Linked DNA regions of Homo sapiens: region 1 is linked to region 2. Evidence: promoter capture Hi-C in human tissues and cell types (Jung and others, 2019). All regions are on one chromosome and are shown on one strand. The core of a region is centred on a gene start or on the middle of the fragment in contact, and the rest is flanking DNA. Distances in the headings are between cores, read along the strand shown. Region 1 overlaps EIF2B1 (eukaryotic translation initiation factor 2B subunit alpha). Region 2 holds the start of SNRNP35 (small nuclear ribonucleoprotein U11/U12 subunit 35).

Evidence for each region. Contacts are between HindIII fragments. The study calls those that stand out against the background at their distance.
Region 1: a contact is called between a fragment that was not itself captured here and the fragment with the promoter of SNRNP35 in region 2, in 2 of the 25 tissues and cell types used here (H1 embryonic stem cells and dorsolateral prefrontal cortex).

Annotation. Positions count from the first base shown.
Region 1 is chr12:123,621,346-123,624,045 of GRCh38, reverse strand. EIF2B1 (eukaryotic translation initiation factor 2B subunit alpha) reads left to right here. Exons shown (of 9, transcript NM_001414.4): 8 at 1,285-1,410; 9 at 2,126-2,700. The coding sequence ends at 2,290. Among named protein-coding and RNA genes, the nearest start is that of SNORA9B, 6.0 kb to the right of the region's middle. RefSeq lists an enhancer at 1,470-2,669. The HindIII fragment of the contact is 7,939 bases long and covers 1-2,700 here.
Region 2 is chr12:123,456,689-123,459,388 of GRCh38, reverse strand. It overlaps SNRNP35 (small nuclear ribonucleoprotein U11/U12 subunit 35), which reads right to left and starts at 1,250. Exons shown (of 2, transcript NM_022717.4): 1 at 1,173-1,250. RefSeq lists enhancers at 1-696, 943-1,022, 697-1,563. The HindIII fragment of the contact is 15,518 bases long and covers 1-2,700 here.

The sequences.
Region 1 (2,700 bases), core at 43-2,542, 160 kb before region 2:
ATTTTAAAATAGAGACACATTCACTCTGTTGCCCAGGCTGTAGTGTAGTACAGTGATCATAGCTTACTGCAGTCTTGAACTCCTAGCCTGAAGCAATCTTTCCACTTCCCAAAGTGCTAGGATTACAGGCATGAGCCACTGTGGCCGGCCTGTCATTTGTTTTCATTTTAATTGAGCACATTTGACCTCAATTTATTACAATCTCTCTCTCCATTATTTAATTTAGAAAAGCTTCATGAAAGCTTTTTTTAGTTAAAATATATGTAACATAAGGCCGGGCGTAGTAGCTCACGCCTATAATCCCAGCACTTTGGGAGGCTGAGGCAGGTAGATCATCTGAGGTCAGGAGTTCGAGACCAGCCTGGCCAACATGGTGAAACCCCATATCTACTAAAAATACAAAAAATTAGCTGGGCATGGTGGCGGGTGCCTGTAATCCCAGCTACTTGGCAGGCTGACGCAGGAGAATCGCTTGAACCTGGGAGGCGGAGGTCTGCAGGCAGAGTGTTGAGTCACATGGTAACTATATATTTAACTTTCAGAAACTAATGATTTTCCACAGCAGCTGCACTACTTTACATTCCCACTAGCAAAGCACAAAGGTTCCAATTTCTCTACATCCTTGCCAACACTTGTTTTTTTAAATTTTTTTATTTTTTGAGATGGAGTTTCACTCTTGCTGTCCAGGCTGGAGTGCAATGGCACAGTCTTGGCTCACTGCAACCTCCAGTGCCCGGGTTCAAGCGAGTCTCCTGCTTCAGCCTCCCTAGTAGCTGGGATTACAGGCACCCCCCATCCCACCATGCCCAGCTAATTTTTTGTATTTTTAGTAGAGATGGGGTTTCCCTATATTGGCCAGCTGGTCTCAAACTCCTGACCTCAGGTGATCCACCCACCTCGGCCTCCCAAAGTGCTGGGATTACAGGCGTGAGCCACCACATCCAGCCTCTAGTGGCTGTTTCTATATCCTTTGAGAAACATTTATTTTTTTGATTCCAAAGTCAGAATTAGATATATCTAATATATGTATTAGATATATGTATATCTATATTATATACATAACTTTCTATTGCTGTTTTTTAATTGTTCCTTTATTGTAATTGAGACGAGGTCTCACCGTGTTGCCTAGGCTGGTCCCAAACTCATGGGTTCAGGTGATCCACCCACCTCGGCCTCCCAAAATGCTGGAATACAGGCATGCACCACTGTGCCCGGCCCGCTTTTCTGTGGCTTCTACTTCAGATGCACTCTAGAGCTCATCCATTCCATTTTCTGCCTTCCCAGATTGGAACCAACCAGATGGCTGTGTGTGCCAAAGCACAGAACAAACCTTTCTATGTGGTTGCAGAAAGTTTCAAGTTTGTCCGGCTCTTTCCACTAAACCAGCAAGACGTCCCAGATAAGTTTAAGGCAAGAGTTTTACATATTTGAAGGGGTACTAAAGTCTAAACAGAAACCTTTGGAAATTGTAGTCCTAAGAATGTTCCAGTAATTTTTTCACTTCCTATTGCTACTTTCCCCAACACTTGGAATACAAAGATAAATTGGTGATTGGACTCACACATTTGTCCCTAGAACTTCAGTCTTTCAGTCTCTTTAAGTAGCACCATAGATGGGTGGAGAGGAAGCCCGAAGCTGGTGGGTAAGTCCCAGCTTTGGGCTTAACTGAGCTCAGCTCCCATCACCACAACTTACAAACTGTGCGAGTTGAGGCAAGTCCTTTCATTTCAACCTCTGAACCGGTTTTCTTGTCTGTAAAATGGCATAGCAGTATCTGACAGGGTCATGAGGATTCTAAGATAATCTTAGCACAGTCCCTGGCACGCTGCAAGCTCTCTATTGTGACTCTCGATCTTCCCTTGAGAGGTCTGGAGAAGTTAATCCGGCATGAGAATGAGGGGACATGGGATTTAAGTTTGTTACACTACAGCTCTCAGCCAGCACACTGCCATGATCTGGCTCATGGCCACAACTCTGCCCTCGTCTCTAGTGTCCTGCATAGCTTAGTTTCTCCCATTTTCAGAGAGCAGTCTCAGGAAGTAGCACACTGATCACTCACACCAAGGCCCTACCAGGTCAGAGCACTAAATATTCAGTGCCGACTAATGTGTACTTCTCTCCTCAGTATAAGGCAGACACTCTCAAGGTCGCGCAGACTGGACAAGACCTCAAAGAGGAGCATCCGTGGGTCGACTACACTGCCCCTTCCTTAATCACTCTGCTGTTTACAGACCTGGGCGTGCTGACACCCTCAGCAGTCAGCGATGAGCTCATCAAGCTCTATCTGTAACCTGTGAGCCCTTTCCTGCCAAGGTGCAGCTTACGTAGTTGAGGCAGGGTGAGTAGCTGCTTGACACCCCAGTGAGTCAGGCCAAAACTGAGATGTGTTTAATGAAGATTTATGGAGTAAGGACTTAAAATCATACATCTTGGAGAACCTTTCTTACTCATTTCAGTCCCATCTAAAAATGTGTCAGCTATTCTAAATCCCAACTTAAATTGTTCTTACGGTTTCTAGAAACTTTCCTTTTCAGTTTCCAGAAATACAAGTTAGATAATTGGCTACTTAACTGATGAAAGATGAGCCCAAGTCCACCTGTCTTCATCCTCCCCTGCACTCCAGACTGATCTGCCTAAAGCACGCGAGATGCAGGCGAAAAGCAGCCACACCCCTCTGCCACAAATGACCAACAGCTGGTC
Region 2 (2,700 bases), core at 1-2,500:
TTTGAGGTCAGTAAATTTTGAGCTTCAGGATTCTTATTGTGAAATGTAGCTAAATGTCACTTCACTAGGTTTTTGTGAAGATTAGATCATATGGTGTCTATAAAAATGCATTACAATTATAAATTATTATACAAATTTAGAAAATTTTTGGCCAGGCACGCGCTGGCTCACGCCTGTAATACCAGCACTTTGAGAGGCCGAGGCTGGAGGATCGCTTGAGCCCAGAAATTCGAGACCAGCCTGGGCAACAAAGTGAGACCCCGTTTCAATCAATCAATCAATAATCAATTCTCCGGGCGTGGGGTCGCGCCTGTGGTCCCAGATACTTGAGAGGCTGAGGCGGGAGGACTGCTTGACCCGAAATGTCGACGCTGCAGTGAGCCGAGATCGCGCCACCGCTCTCCAGCCTGGGCGACTCCCTGTCTCTGGGGAAAAACAAAAAAATAAATGAAGCCTCTCCTTCCTGGGTCTTCGGGGTAAGACTCTGCCCCTCCTGGCCGGGCACGGTGGCTGACGGCTGTAATCCCAGCACTTTGGGAGGCCGAGGCGGGTGGATCACGAGGACAGGAGATCGAGACCATCCTGGCTAACATGGTGAAACCCCGTCTCCAGTAAAATACAAAAAATTAGCAGGGCGTGGTGGCGGGCGCCTGTAGTCTCAGCTACTCGGGAAGCTGAGGCAGTGGAATCGCTTGAACCCAGGAGGCGGAGGTTGCAGTGAACCGAGATCGCACCACTGCACTCCAGCCCGGGCGACAGAGCAAGACTGTCTCAAAAAGGAAAAAAAAAAAAAAAAGACTTTGCCCCTCCTGTGAAAAGCAAAACTGAAGGCGGAACCCACAGAGCCCTCCAGGGCATGCGCAGTGGGCCTCGGAGGCAAACACCTAAGTTTCTGTGGAAAAGCCTATCCTTCCCATCCAGCCTGCAGCCTGGCCGCCAACCCTCGAGGCCGCTCCCCCGCCCCTCTCCTTCTCTGGGGGCCGCAGGGAGTAAGGCGCCATCCTTCCAATCCAGCTCTCGTCCCCACTCCCCGCAACGCAACCCAGAATGTCGTCCCCTTTGCCAGGTTTCAACATGGCGCCCCACACAAGCGCGGGCACAGCGTCTGGGCCGCACTCCCTCTTCCTTCTCTCCGGCGTGGGGCCCGCTCCTTCCAAGCCGCTTCCACTCACCTCTGCAAAGCTTGGGCTCCCTTCCGACGGAGACAGGCGAGCAGCTGCAGGCGACAGCAGATTCTCCGCGCCGGCCTCGGCCTGACCTTTACATTGGTAGCAGCAGATTCGCCGCCGACGCTCGTTTCCTGTTTGTTTTACCTTTAAAATTTTACTCCCACGCAACGAGGGTGTTATCATCTCCGAAGACAATAAGCTAAAAAAAAATTTTTTTAAGAGAAAAATTGCTAATTCAACAACTAAGTTGAAAGAAAGACTATCGAATATGCAGTTACCTGGGACATTTTACTTTATTATTTATTTATTCTTATTTATTATTTTTTCTTGAGACGGAGACTCCCTCTGTCGCCCAGGCTGGAGTGCAGTGGTGCGAACTCGGCTCACTGCAACCTCCGCCTCCCGGGTTCAAGTGATTTTCCTGCCTCAGCCTCCCGCGTAGCTGGGATTACTGGCGCCCGCCACCACGCCCGGCTATTTTTTGTATTTTTAGTAGAGACAGGGTTTTGCCATGTTGGCCAGGCTGGTCTCGAACTTCTGACCTCAAGTGATCCGCCCGCCTCGGCCTCCCAAAGTGCTGGGATTACAGGCGTGAGCCATCGCGCCCGGCCCCAATTTCTTTATAAAAAAAAAAAAAAAAAAAAAGGCCAGGTGGCATGCCTCACGCCTGTAATCCCAGCACTTCGGGAGGCCGAGGCGGGCGGATCACCTGAGGTTCGGAGTTCGAGACCAGCCTGAGCAACATGGAGAAACCCCTTCTCTACTAAAAATACAAAATTAGCTGGACATGGTGTCATGTGCCTGTAATCCCAGCCACTCAGGAGGCTGAGGCAGGAGAATCACTTGAACCCGGGAGGCAGAGGTTTCGATGAACTGAGATGGTGCCATTGCACTCCAGCCTGAACAACAAGAGTGAAAGTCCGTCTCAAAAAAAAGAAAAATCTATAGCTTAAAATTTTATGTTTGAAAATATATGGTAGCCACTGTCAGTGGAGGCCATCTGCAGTTTCAGCTACTAGGGAGGCTGAGTCGTGAGGCTTGAGGCCAGGAGTTCAAGTTCAGCCTGTCAGCCTGGGCAACAGAGCAAGACCCCTATGTTGTTGTTTGTTTGTTTGTTTTTGTTTTGTTTTGTTTGAGACAGAGTTTCACTCTTGTTGCCCATATTGGAGTGCAATGGCACGATCTCGGCTGACCGCAACCTCCGCCTCCCAGGTTCAAGCAATTCTCCTGACAGCCTTCCGAGTAGCTGGGATTACAGGCATGTGCCACCATGCCCGGCTAATTTTGTATTTTTAGTAGAGATGGGGTTTCTCCATGTTGGTCAGGCTGGTCTTGAACTCCCGATCTCAAGTGATCTGCCTGCCTTGGCCTCCCAAAGTGCTGGGATTACAGGCGTGAGCCACCACACCTGGCTGACCCCTATGCTTTTAAACACACACACACACACACACACACACACACACACACACACACACACACACACGTGGTATGTACAGTACATGCAATGGAATACTATTTCTCCTTAAAAAGA